Regions from separate parts of the Homo sapiens genome. Here region 2 is linked to region 1. Evidence: promoter capture Hi-C in 16 types of primary human blood cells and fetal thymus (Javierre and others, 2016). All regions are on one chromosome and are shown on one strand. Each heading gives the region's core, a stretch centred on a gene start or on the middle of the fragment in contact. The rest is flanking DNA. Distances are from core to core; before and after follow the strand shown.

What was found. Contacts are between HindIII fragments. The CHiCAGO score rates a contact against its expected background, and 5 or more counts as called.
Region 2: a fragment that was not itself captured here is called in contact with the fragment with the promoter of UBR1 in region 1 in 1 of 17 cell types (fetal thymus); the score reaches 5.6 in fetal thymus.

The regions. Positions count from the first base shown.
Region 1 is chr15:43,103,103-43,110,436 of GRCh38, forward strand. UBR1 (ubiquitin protein ligase E3 component n-recognin 1) reads right to left here and starts at 2,936. Exons shown (of 47, transcript NM_174916.3): 1 at 2,840-2,936. The coding sequence starts at 2,920. RefSeq lists an enhancer at 2,755-3,034. The HindIII fragment of the contact is 7,548 bases long and covers 1,204-7,334 here.
Region 2 is chr15:42,702,074-42,709,407 of GRCh38, forward strand. All of the region lies in intron 26 of STARD9 (StAR related lipid transfer domain containing 9), which reads left to right. LOC124903605 (small nucleolar RNA U13) reads right to left here and starts at 6,719; the gene lies at 6,619-6,719. The HindIII fragment of the contact is 2,495 bases long and covers 1,637-4,131 here.

The sequences.
Region 1 (7,334 bases), core at 1,686-4,185:
AGTTATAGTGAGCCAAGATGGCACCACTATACCACAGCCTGGGTGATGGAGTAGGACTCTGTCTTAAATAAATTAAATTAAATTAAACCCTGTCTCTACAAAATATGCAAAAAATTAACTCGGCATGGTGGCACATGCCTATATTCCCAGCTACTCAGGAGGTTGAGGTGGGAAGATCATCTGAGCCCAAGAGATTGAGGCTGCAATGAGTTGTTTGTGCCACTGCACTCCAACCTGGGTGACAAAGCGAAACCCTGTCTCAAAACAAAAAGGATGTTATCCATTCCCACAACCTCAACTATAAATTTACTGATAACTTCCAAATACCTAGCTAAGTGTTACTCAAAGTGTGGCCCATACACCACTATTACAGAATCAGCAGGACATGCTTGTGAAAATGCAGATTCTTGGACCTCACCTCAGACCTACAGTATCAGTTCCCCTGGTAATTCTTAAGCAATGGCTTTTATCAATGTCCACTAATTCATACGTATTATTTTATTTGAATTGCATGTGAGATAATGTTAGGAATACTACAGCCTTCACGCTTACTAATAGCAATATGAATGAAAAAGGATCTGCAGACTAAGAAGGAAGTTTAAGGAAATCAGAGACTATAACCAGGGATTAGACTCTAATGGAAATTGTACGATTGCTTAAACCTCTATAAATGTCCCATACTATTTAACTTTGTCTAAAGATAAACAATAAGGAGTAGGGGGAACAACTGAGCTTGTATTGCTTAACAGCAAAGTAGTAAACTTGGAAGCCAGTGTCATACCATGGCTAGAATAAAATTAAAAACAGTAATAGCTTTTAAAAGAGAAAAAGAGAAAGAGAGAGGTAGAATGATCTGTAGGGTCTTCAGTAGACAGAGAGATCCAAGCCAAAAAAGGGGTTATAAAGCTTAACAGTCACAGGACTTCATTTACTGACATTACTCTACCTTGAATTAAAATTATTTGGGCCCTTATATTACCTGTGTCACCAGACTGTGAGTTCCTTGAGGCTATATTACACAATCTACCTACTACTTTGCAAAACCCAAAGCCCTGCCCAACAAAATCTAATAATATTTCCTGAGGTAAAGAGTTGCCACATAAATTCTAGCTCAATTCCTGTATCATTATCTCCAATTCCAAATTAGTGACGTCCAGAATGATGGGGTTTTATTGTATTATCTGGAAAAAATTAATGTATCAAAGCTTTAAATAAATATTAGTCTTCAGATACAAAACTATAACAATTCTTCTGACCACAGCAGTTTCCCCACTCCTTCTAACAAGCAAAACTCACAAACTACCATTAAAATGTTTCAGTTGCTTTTAAATTTGTCCTACCTCCTCATTCCTTATCATCTCAAATAAGATGCTTCCTCCTTCAGGAACAGTAGTGAAGTGAATTTGAACTGCTATTTGGGGTGGAGGAAAACGGCAAGCACTGACATAGTCAGTGGCCAAATCCTTTTTCCAACTCCCTCCCTACCTTGTTCCTACCTCCTAGACAGTCTCTTCAGTCCCTGGAGTTGACTCATGCCGTAGCTCCCTCTGTAGTTCCCTCTGTTCTCGCATAAAACAATGTTCAATTGTATGCAGGGTTAAAAAAAAAAACAAAAAACCTTCAAGAATGCTTTTAATCTGTAATCCCAGCACTTTGGGATGCCGAGGCAGGTGGATCACCTGAGGTCAGGAGTTCGAGATCAGCCTGGCCAACATGGTGAAACCCCGTCTCTAATAAAAATAAAAATAAAAAAAATTAGGCAAGCATGGTGGCAGGCACCTGTAATCCCAGCTACTCAAGAGGCTGAGGCAGGAGAATTCCTGAACTCGGGAATTTGCAGTTCAATTCCTGAACTCGGAAGGTTGCAGTGAGCCGAGATTACACCACTGCACTTCAGCCTGGGCAACAAGAGCAAAACTCTGCCTCAAAAAATAAATAAAATAAAATAATGTTTTTATTAAACTACAAGCCAAAGAAACTTCAGAAAAAATGTGTATATCCCAAATCTCTAAATGCTGCTATTTAGAAAGACAAACTAATAAAACATCATGCGGTGACAGATATTTGAATATTTTCTACATATCTCCACACTAGATGCCCTGGGCATCCAGAACATTCCCTAACATTGCCCCCTACTCTTATCTTCCTCGGCAGCTTTCTCCCTGTAGCTAGTGACTCAAATTTGTTCACTATCTGTGCCTTCCCATTCTTTCAAAATGCAAGAGCAAAGTATAGATTCCGACATCAATTAATGGTATTGCTCTGGCTTGAAATGTTTGGGAGTCCTTTCTTCACCTTTAAAAAGTAGCGACAGATGATGGGTTTCTCCACTGAGGGTTAGGCCTGGGGTTCCCAAGATGCTATACGCAAGGACAATTACTACACCTCACATCTAGACATGACTTGACAGTAGCAGCACTACCTACCAATATCAGGTCCCGGCCAGCAGGCTATGCAATAAAATACCAGGTGCTGCGTTCCCATCATCAAGAGTAAAGGGTTAGTACTGCTTCTATACGAAAATGGCTCTTGCTCCAACCCCGCCTCGGCCCCCACATCAAACCGTCTAATAACATCACTGGTTCTTTCTACTTCAGAATAGAGACATGCACACTTGAGATCATCAAGAATAATACATAACAAAGTCATTATATTCCGTAGACTTGGCTGGCAGAAATGTGGGTTGCGACTAACTTTTTATTCGGTGGCTTCCTTCCAGATCAATCCAGATAACTCCCCCTCCCCAGAGCCGCCATAAGGGGTGAAGCCCCACATCCTCCTAAGCGCAGTAGGGAGGGACCGGGGGGAGGACAAAAGAGACTTGCCTATAGGGACTTACAGATGCCAGACGCTGAGGGGTCTGGGGTAACTCCGCGCTGATTTCCATCCTCTCAGTACCTCCAGCCTCCTCGTCCGCCATCTTGAGGGAAACTGACGCCTGCAGTTGCCGACCCCCGGCCAGAGGCAAGCGGAAACCTGTGGCCGGTCGGAGAGACAGGGACGACACTTTTACGACGGCCCCTGAAGTCGGGTTTGACGCAGACTCGAGGAGTGGCTTCCGGCCCGCTTCCCGGAAGCAAGCGTCACGACGTGAAGGGACTGGAGATTTTTTTTTTCCCCTCTAATTTATCAGGCGTAGCTCTTGGTAGCTGAATGGTTGTATATCTGGGTTTGGTGCTGGGAACTGTTGCATCTACGAGGTAAAAAAAACAAAGTCAGCGTCCATTATGAAAGGAAGAAAACTTGTCGGGGGCTAAAGCAAGAACCTGTCCTAGCTGGCCGGTTGTTGGCCTGGGGATGTTTTGTATCCCAACCTCCCTGCAGTAGTTCCCCAGAGCCTACAAAATGAAAAAGAAAGTACTCACACATCTTCTATTTTTAGGATTCTACCCCGTGGGCACTTGCACATGTGTACAAAAAAAGCTCGGGATCCAGCTTTATTGGGGGACACGGGGGGAAATAACAAAAAATTGGAAACCTAGTCATTCATCGATAGAGGAAAGACAAGATATACTATGGTACATTCGCATTTTGAAATACTGTGCAGCTCTTGAGCAAGATAAATCTGCGTGAAAAGATCAAGATAAATTGAGAGAAAAAAAAGCCAAGTTGCTGCAAACTATATATTTGCACACATAGGCATTTAAATGTGAAGGAGTAAGTCTGAAAGGGGAAAGGGCAAAGTAGTAACTCTGAGGGCCAGGATTCGGATTGGAGGAAGAAGGTGGTCAAGAGCTACTTTACCTTCATTTGTATTTTAAATTTTTTACAAAACAAATAATTTTAAAGTATATTTTTAACAAAGGGAAGAAAATAAAGCTCCAAACAATGTGAAAAGTAGAGGAGGCTTTCCAAATGCTGTGGTCCACCTTGATTTATAGAACTTTCCTGCCTAAACAATGTTTCTGCTCAAATGAACTACTTCCTGGGTGCTAAAATACTGTTTTTCCAGCCTTTTTTGCCCAACAACCACAATAAATACATTTTACATCTTATCACGGTACACCTATACAAAATTAAATGGGTATATATAGAATATGTATATATATACTGAAACTTAAATTTTCTGAAACAATACTTCCAATATGTCATATTTTCTATTCAATTGCAATATGTTTATGCATTTAAGCCAAAATACTGGTTGTAGTTATTAAAGTGATACTATAACCCACAATAGGTATTGTCCCACATTTTGATAAAAATTGCCCTAAAAGTTACCTTGTCCCTTCCTGTCTCTATGCTTTTACTTCTGTAGTTCTCTTATGCTACCCCACGCTCTTCTCTTTTTCTTCTTTCATTCCTAGATAAATGAAATAGACTAGAACGTTCAGAAATAGGTCGGGGCAGTGGCTCACGCCTGTAATCCCAGCACTTTGGGAGGCCAAGGTGAGTGGATCACCTGAGGTCAGGAGTTCGAGACCAGCCTGGACAACACAGTGAAACCCCATGTCTATTAAAGATACAAAAATTAGCTGGGTGTGGTGGCAGGTGCCTGTAATCCCAGCTACTCAGGAGGCTGAGGCAGGAAAATTGCTTGAACCCAGGAGGTAGAGTTTGCAGTGAGCCAAGATCATGCCACTGGCACTCCAGCCTGGGCTACAAGAGCAAAACTCTGTCTCAAAAAAAAAAAAAAAGAAAAAGAAAAAACAGAAAATAAAAAGAAATAATAGCCACTTATCAACATCTTAATGTAATCAAAGCACTAGTATATTAATAACACTAGCTATATATTAATAACAATCCTTTAGGTAGATGTTACTACTTCTATTTTACTGTCATGAGAAACTGAGAAAACTGAAGTTTAGAGAAGTTACATAATTTGGTTAGGGACATGCAGCTTCCAAGTGACACAGCAGATATTCAGCCAGCACAATGGCTCACCCCTGTAATGTTAGCACTTTGGGAGGCCAAGGCGGGAGGATTACTTGAGCCCAGGAGTTTGAGATGGGCAACATAGCAAGACTCCCACCTCTACCAAAAAATAATAATAAATAAAATCCAGTTCAAATGACTCACAAGGCCCTATTCTTATCCATTTCACTTTATTACTTTATACCAAATTCAAGTATTTTACACATGAAAGATAACAGCATTTCAAGTGAGAAGGAAATTATGAACTGCTTATTTATTTATTTTTTCAGATGGAGTTTCGCTCTTGTTACCCAGGCTGGAGTGCAGTGGCGTGATCTCAGCTCACCACAACCTCCGCCTCCCGGGTTCAAGCAATTCCCCTGCTTCAGCCTCCCAAGTAGCTGGGATTACAGGCATGCACCACAATGCCTGGCTAATTTTGTATTTTTAGTAGACACGATGTCTCTCCATGTTGGTCAGGCTGGTCTCAAACTCCCGACCTCAGGTAATCCGCCCGCCTCGGCCTCCCAAAGTGCTGGGATTATAGGTGTGAGCCACCACGCCCAGCCGGACTGTTTATTAAGTGGTGCAAAAACAGATGGTTATGTAGCAGTTCCTCAAAAAACAAAATTAGACATAGAATTCCCATGTGATCCAGCAATTCCACTTCTGGGTATATATCCAAAAGAAGTGAAAGCAGGGTCTTGAACAGATGTTTGTATACCTGTGTTCATTGAAGCATTATTCAGTATAGTCAAATGGTGGCAGGAACCCAAGTGTCCATCAACAGCTGAGTGGATAAACAAAATGTGGCATATACATGCAATGGAATATTATTCAGCCTTTAAAGGGAAGGAAACTGTGACACATGCCACAGCATGGATGAACCTTACAGACATTAGGCTAAATAAAAGAAGCCAGTCACAAAAAGACAAATACTGTGTAATTTGACTTATAATACATACCTAGAGTAGTCAAATTCATAGACACAGAAAGTAGAATGGTGGTTTCCAGGGTCTGAGAGGAGGAGAGAATCGAGTTTAATGGATACGGAGTTTCATTTTGGAAAGATGAAAAAGTTTTGGAGATGTGTAGTGGTAATGGTTGCATAACAATATGAATATATCTAATGCCACTGAATGGTATACTTAAAAGTGGTTAAAATGGTAAATTTTACGTATATTTTACCACAATAAAAAAATTTAAAGAGGCCGGGCGTGGTGGCTCAAGCCTGTAATCCCAGCACTTTGGGAGGTCAAGGCCAGCGGATCACTGGAGGTCAGGAGTTCGAAACCAAGCTAGCCAACATGGTGAAACCCCATCGCTACTAAAAATACAAAAATTAGCCGGGCATGGTGGTGCATGCCTGTAATCCCAGCTACTCGGGAAACTGAGGTAGGAGAATCGCTTGAATCCGGGAGGCGGAGGTTGTGTTGAGCCGAGATCGCGCCACTGCACTCCAGCCTGGGTGACAGTGCGAGACTCTGTCTCAAAAAAAAAAAAAGAAACATTTAAAGAATAAGTAACCATCTGGGAAAAGATGGTCAGATCCTTACCTCAAATCATACCCCAAAATAATTCTTTTTTTTTTTTTTTTTGAGACGGAGTGTTGCTCTGTCACCCAGGCTGGAGTGCAGTGGTGCAATCTCGGCTCACTGCAACCTCCGCCTCCCGGGTTCAAGTGATTCTCCTGCCTCAGCCTCCTGAGTAGCTAGGATTACAGGTGCATGCCACCACGCCCGGCTAATTTTTTATATTTTTAGTAGAGACAGGGTTTCACCATGTTAGCCAGGATGGTCTCGATCTCCTGACCTCGTGATCCGCCTGCTTCGGCCTCCCAAAGTGCTGGGATTACAGTCATGAGCCACCGCGCCCGGCCCTCAGAATAATTATTAACAGATTAAAGAGTTAACTGCTAAAAAGAGTAAATAAGTAAAAATTATTATTATTTTTTTGGAGACAGGGTCTTGCTTTGTTACTCAGGCTGGAGTGCAGTGGCATGGTCTTGGCTCACTTCAACTCTACCTCCAGGACTCAAGCGATCCTCCCACCTCAGCCTCCCAAGCAGCTGAGACCACTGGCATGCACCACCATGCCTGGCTAATTTTTGTATTTTTTTGTAGAGACAGGGTTTCTCCATGTTGCCCAAGCTGATCTCGAACTCTTGGGCTCAAGTGATCCACCCACCTTTGCCTCCCAAAGTGCTAGAATTACAGGCATGAGCCACTGAGCCCTGCCCAAAGTAAATATTTTTTTAATATTGCATTGGAGAAGTCTTTTTTAAGCATGTTGCTAAAGGCAAAAAATATAAACATAAAAATACTTATATGTAATTTTATTAAAATTAAAAACATAAAAATAAATGACATAAAATTTAAAAGGTAAACAAAAACTAGGGAAAAATGTCTGCAGTAGACATGGCAGATCAAAGGATAAAATCCCAAAGTGGCCAGGCACCATGGCACATGCTTGTAATCCCAATA
Region 2 (7,334 bases), core at 1,634-4,133, 400 kb before region 1:
CCTCGCTAACAGATATTAGGCATTCTTCCCTAAGGGCTAAACAGAAACCAGCCCTTTCAGCAGACTCCACACTGATAATGTCAGTTACTAGTTTATCTTCCCAGTTATAGAACAAAGACGATTAAAATTTTTTGTTTGTTTGTTTTTTTAGTCAGAGTCTTGCTCTGTCGCCCAAGCTGGAGTGCAGTGGCACAATCTCAGTTCACTGCAACCTCTGCCTCCCGGGTTCAAATGATTCTCCTGCCTCAGCCTCCTGAGCAGCTGGGATTACAGGCGCGCACCACCATGCCTGGCTAATTTTTGTATTTTTAGTAGAGACGGGGTTTCGCTATGTTGGCCAGGCTGGTCTCCAACTCCTGACCTCATGATCTGCCCACCTCGGCCTCCCAAAGTATTGGGATTACAGGCATGAGCCACCGCGCCCGGCCTGTTGTTATTATTTTTAATAGTTTTGTCTTTTATTCTTCATAGCAAAGATAGGAGTTGTCTATCTATCACAGTTATAATATTAGAGTTTTCTAAATTTGTCTGTGTACTTAGTTTTACCAGTGAGTTTTATACCTTCAGATGTTTGCTTGTTACACATTAGCATCCTTTTCTTTCAGATTGAAGAAGTGCCTTTAGCAGTTGTTATATAAGACAGGTCTGGTGTTGATGAATTTCCCCAATTTTCATTTGTCTGGGAAAGTCTTTCCTCTCTTCTTCATGTCTGAAGGATAGTTTTACTGGATGAAGTATTCTTGGTTGATGTTTTTTTCCTTCAGCACTTTGACTGTCATCCCACTCCCTCCTAGCCTGTAAGGTTTTTGCCGAGAAGTCTGCTGCCAGACCTATTGGAGCTCCTTTACTTGTTATTTGCTTGTTTTCTTTTTTAAAAATTACAGTTTAATTTAAGTGTTTTGTAGAAATGGGAGTCTCACTATGTTGCCCAGGCTGGTCTTGAACTTCTGGCCTCAAGCAATCCTCCTACCATAGTCTCCTAAAGTGTTGGGATTACAAGCATAAGCCACCACACCTAGCCTATTTGCTTCTCTTCTCTTGCTGGTTTAATGACCTTTTCTTTGTCCTTGACCTTTGAGAATTTGATTATTATATGCCGTGGAGTAGTCTTATTTCATTAAATTTAATTGGGAACTTTTTACCTTTCCATACCTCAATATTTATATCTTTCTCTAGGTTTGGAAAGTTCCCTGTTATTATTGCTTTGAATAAACTTTCTACTCCCCTCCGTTCTCATTCTGCACTCCCTCTTGAATGCCAGTGACTCGTACATTTGTTTTTTTTGTTTTGTTTGTTTTTTTTTTTTTTAGATGGAGTCTTGCACTGTTCACCCAGGCTGGAGTGCAGTGGCACAATCCCTGCCCACTGCAGCCTCCGCCTCCAGGGTTCAAGCAATTCTCCTGCCTCAGCCTCCCAAGTAGCTGAGATTATAGGCGCCAGCCACCATGCCTGGCTGATTTTTTTTTTTTTTTTGTATTTTTAGTAGAGACAGGGTTTCACCATGTTGGTCACGCTGGTCTTGAACTCCTGACCTCATGATCCACCCACCTCGGCCTCCCAAAATACTAGGATTACAGGCGTGGGCCACCGCGCCTGGCCACATTTGTTCTTTTGACACTATCACACAGATTCTTTAAGCTTTCTTTTGTTCTTTTTCATTCTTTTTTTCTTTCCTCCTCTGTATTTTCAAATATCCTGTCTTTGAGCTCACAGATTTATTCTTCTGCTTTATAATTTCTGCTGTCAAGACAGCATTTTAATGCATTTTTGTTTGTTCAGTGTATTTCACCTCCAGGATTTCTGTTTGATTTTTAAAAGATTATTATTATTATTTACTTATTTATTTATTTTGAGATGGAGTTTCACTCTTGTTGCCCAGGCTGGAGTGCAGTGGCGTGATCTTGGCTCACGGCAACCTCCGCCTCCCGGGTTCAAGCGATTCTCCTGCCTCAGCCTCCCGAGTAGCTGGGATTACAGGCACCTGACACAGCGCCCGGCTAATTTTTTTTGTATTTTTAGTAGAGATGGGGTTTTACCATGTTGGTCAGGCTGGTCTCGAACTCCTGACCTCAGGTGATCTGCCTGCCTCGGCCTCCCAAAGTGCTGGGATTACAGGCATGAGCTACCACGCCTGGCCAAGATTATTTTAATCTCTTTGTAAAGTTTCTCTCATAGATTTCTGAATTATTTCTCTGTGTTTTCTTGAAGTTTATTGGGCTACCTCAAAACAACTATTTTGAATTCCCTGTCTTAGATTATACTTCTCAATCTCTTCAGGATGGATCACTGGCACCTTATTTAGTTGGTTTGGTGAGGTCATAGTTCCCTTAATGTTCTTGATGCTTTCCAATGTGTGTCAATATCTGGGCATTGAAGAAATTGATATATATTCCAATTTTTGCAATCTGGCCTTGTTTGTACCTGTCTTTCAGAGAGCCTTCCAGGAATTCAAAGGAGCCTGACTGTTGAGTTCCCTAAGCCTGTGGTCACTGTAGCCATCTTAGCGCTAGAGGGCACTGTAAGCCTATGTAGCTGGGACTCTGTTACAGACTCCAATGTCCCTGGCCCCGATGGACCTGAGTAAGACCCAGGGAGAGTTCCCCACCTCGTGTGGTAATGCTGGCCAGGGCCCTGAACCAGGTGCTGGTTTTGTTGTTGTGGGCTTGGTACTGGGTTCCAAGGAAAAGTTTCATGCATAATTCGGTCTCCTTCCCTAAAGTAGATGGTGTCTTTCTCTGTACCATGTTGCCTACAGTTGGAGGGAAAGGTGATGTGGGCAGTCCTGTGGCTGCCACAGCTGATGCTATGCAGGGCTACACCTGAAGCCTATGGCCTCTTGGACCAGGGTGGAAATGGGTCATGCCCAAGGCCCAGGCTGCTACCATGCTGAAATTTATTTGGGGCCCAGTGATGTGAGAATCCCATTCATCCTGATGGGGTGGGGAATTCCTTTCTGGTGCTTAGTGTGGGTCCACAATCTTTGTCCGTGGGCACAGGCCTGGAATTAGGCTGTGGGGTTTTTTCTGGTTCTGTGTATTACTGTGGCAGACTTAGTACTGGGCTCTAAGGCAAAGTCCCATGTCCACTAACCTCTCCTTCTGCCATGTGGGCGGTGTCTCTCATCACTACCTAGGGTTGGGGAAGGGTTGGTACAGATAATATGAGACTGTCCTTCCTATTATCTTTAATGCATCTTCTTCTCCTTGTAAAATCTAGTACTTTTATCTATCAACTGGTTTTCCTAGCTCTAGCGAAGATATTTTCTTTTGTGGATTGTTGTTCAAATTGATGTTTCTGTGGGGAACTATCACTGACGGGTCCTATTCTGCCATCTTGTTGTGCCTCTGTGTTACTGATCTGTTGTTTGTTTATTTTTTTGAGATGGAGTCTTGCTCTGTCACTCAGACTGGAGTGCTGTGGCGCCATCTTGACTCACTGCAACCTCCGCCTCCCAGGTTCAAGCGATTCTTCCTGGCTCAGCACTCCGAGTACCTGGGACTACAGGCATGCATCACCCTCCATGCCTGGCTAATTTTTCTTGTATTTTTAATAGAGATGGGGTTTTCAGTGTTGGCTAGGCTGGTCTCAAACTCTTGACCTCAGGTGATTTGCCCACCTCAGCTGAACAAAGTGCTGGGATTACAGGCATGAGCTACTGCACCCAGCCTGTTGTTTGTTTGTTTATTTTTTATTTTTTGAGATGGAGTCTCACTCTCTCACTCGGGCTGGAGTGCAGGGGCGTGATCTCAGCTTACTGCAACCTCCACCTCCTGGGTTCAAGCGATTCTCTTGTCTCAGCCTGCTGAGTAGCTGGGATTACAGGCGCCTGCCCCCACGCCTGGCTAATTTTTGTGTTTTTAGTAGAGATGGGGTTTCACCATGTTGGCCAGGCTTTTCTCAAACTCCTAACCTCGAGTGATCTGCCTACCTCAGCCTCCCAAAGTGCTGGGATTACAGGCGTGAGCCACCGCACCCGTCCTGTTGTTTATTTTTTATATGAAATTTAGGATCACCTTGTCTAGTTCAATTGCAAGAACTTGTTACTATTTTTAATAGGATCATGTGGATTGACTTAGGGAGAAACCACGTCTTATGCTATAGAACTTTCTAACCAAAAATGTACTAGGTTCAAGCTTTCTTTTTATGTTTTTAAAGTTTTCTTCATATGTCTCTCACATTTCTTGTCAGATTTATTTCTAAGTATTTTAAGTTTTTTGTTACTCTTGTAAATAGGTTTTTTCGTTCCTTTATATCTTCTGATTATTTTGTGTGTATTAAAGCTATAGATTTCTGTGAATTAATTTTGCATCTATTTTTTTGGTTGATTCTCTAGACCTGCACTACTAATTTAGTAGCTGCTAATACATGTACCTATCTTAATTTTTTTTTTTTTTTGAGACAGTGTCTTGCTCTGTTGCCCAGGCTGGAGTGCAGTGGCATGATCTCGGCTCACTGCAACCTTCGCCTCAATCTTTAAGCGATTCTCCTGCCTCAGCCTCCCGAAGAGCTGGGATTACAGGCGCCTGCCACCATGCCTGGCTAATTTTTGTATTTTTAGTAGAGATTGGGTTTCACCATGCTGGCCAGGCTCGTCTCGAACCCCTGACCTCAGGTGATCCACCCATCTCGGCCTCCCAAAATGCTGAGATTACAGGCGTGAGCCACCACACCTGGCTTTTTTATAGCTTTTGAGCTGAGATAGATATATTTTTGCAATACTAAGGAAATATCCAACTATTCCTACTTTATAGCATATTCTTATCCAGAATGGGTATTTCAGAGTCTTTGGAGATGATTTCATTCATTCATCCATCCATCTATCTATTTTGGGGCTAATATTGAACTATTCTTGCATTCCTGGAATAAATCCTATAATATATATTTATGATTCTGATATACTATTCTTTTAATGTGTTGGAGTCCAGTTATATTTTAGAATTTTGCATCCATATTTGAATTTTTCTGTGGTTTTTGCTTTCACAATATATTCCTTAGGTTTTGTTATTACTTTATACTCCTTTAATAGGAAAGAAAGGTGGTAGTTTTCTTTTTCAAGGTTTATGAATAGTTAAAAAAGTAATAAAAACTTTATACTTATTAAGTTGGCAAAATTTAGGAAGCCAGATGATGCCAGATTTTGGCAGGACTTTGAGGATATTGGAACCATTACAGGTTCCTATGACTCAGCAATGTTTGCATAGGTTATGAGAGAACATGTAAGGAATTGTTTATTAAGGCATTATTTGAAGTGGCAATGAGTTGGAGGACATTCGCAAATCCATCACTGAGAAGAGTGGATAGGTAAAATGTGGTAGTTGCACACATGAAATATTAATACTATGCAAGACTCGAAATCAGCAGATTAAACACCTAGGCAGAATACTGAGTGAAAAACTTTTTTTTTTTTTTTTTTTGAGACAGAGTCTTGCTGTGTCGCCAAGGCTGGAGTGCAGTGGCACGATCTCGGCTCACTCCAGCCTCCGACTCCTGGGCTCAAGAAATTCTCCTGCCTCAGCCTCCCCAGTAGCTGGGACTACAGGTGCCTGCCACCATGCCCAGCTTATTTTTTTGTATTTTTAGTGGAGACGGACTTTTACTATGTTGACCAGGCTGGTCTTGAACTCCTGACCTCATGATCCGCCCATAAGATGAGATATATTACTATTTGTGAATTAAACAACATATACAGTATATAAATACAACATACACAACAATCACTTTTTGCAAGAACACATACAAACAAAAAGATACACTCTAAGCACATCAGAATGATTTGGATGGGAGTGTGAAATGGGGATGAAAAGTAAAAAAATTTGAGAGCCAGACACGGTGGCTCACATCTGTAATCTCAGCACTTTGGGAGGCTGAGGCAGGAGGATTGCTTGAGCCCAGGAGTTTGAGTCCAGACAGGGCAACATAGAAAAAAAAAAAAAAGCCAGGGTGGTGCTGCACACCTGTAGTCCTAGCTACTCAGGAGGCTGTGGTGGGAGGATTGCTTGAGCCTGGGAAGTCGAGGCTGTGGTGAGCTGTGACCATGCTGCTGCACTCCAGCCTGGGTGACACAGCAAGACCCTGTTTCAAAAAAAAAAAATTTCTTTTGAATCATCTTTTAAAGTTTGATATAATAATCCTTTTAAATTGACAAGGCTTGGTGTTTCAGTAGGGGATTAGTTATTTGAAAAACTTCTTCAATGGAAGATGGTCTGTTAAGATCAGGGGTTAGCAAACTATGGCCCTTTGGCCAGATCTGGCCTGCTTCCTGTTTTTGTAAATAAAGTTTTACCGGAATACAGTCATGCCCATTCATGTACATGTCTTCTATGGTTGTGTTCCCACTACAGTGGCAGAGAGTTGAGTAGCTGCAGCTACTCAAATGGCCCACAAAGCCTTAAATATTCAGTATCTAGCTCCCCACAGAAAAAGTTTTGCCAGCCTTTGGTTTAGATATTTCATCTCTCCTGGAGCCCCTTTTGATTCTAACTTATTCATTTCTGTGTATGTTGTTATCAGTTTCTTTTTCCTATTGTGATAGTTTCTCAGTCTTTTCTTGCTTCGTGGTTAGTAATTTTTTGGAATGTATTTATCTGCTGTTTCTTGCTTTTTTTCTTTTTTTTTTCATGTAAGACAGGTAATGTGCTGACGTAACAAGGTTTGAGAGAGGCACTTCTGAGACATGTATGTGAAAACCCGATCGTCATGCTTACGAACTACAAAAGGATCGTGTCTGTGGTTTTCTTATGGTTGGATTGAAGTTATGCGTTTTTGGCAAAAAAAATACCATAGAAGTGATTTGCCCTTCTGAAGGTTGACAGATTAGGCAAAGAAAAATACAGGATGCTAGTTAAATTCAAATTTTAGACAACAAATAGTTTTATAGTATAAGTATGTCTCATGCAATACCTTATTCTCGGTGCATTGTATCAGAGGTTACCGGATACCGACATGTCCTGTTTCTGGTGATGTGAACTTTGATGTTAAGGTGGTGGTTGGGGGTCTCTCCACTGAATGTTGCTATATTGTCCTTTATGATTAATGAACATGGCTGAATGTGGTGGCTGACGCCTGTAATCCCAGTGCTTTGGAAAGCTGAGGCAGGAGGATCACTTGAGTCCAGTATTTTGAGATCAGCCTAGGCAACATAGTGATACGCCATCTCTACACACACACACACAAAAGCTATGTTGGTGGTGCATGCCTGTGGTCCCAGCTACTTGGGAGGCTGAGGTGGGAGGATCGCTTGAGCCTGGAGGGGAATGGAGGCTGCAGTGAGCCATGATTACATCATTGGCCTTGGACAGAGGGAGACCCTGTCTCAAAAAATCTTGGAGACTAGC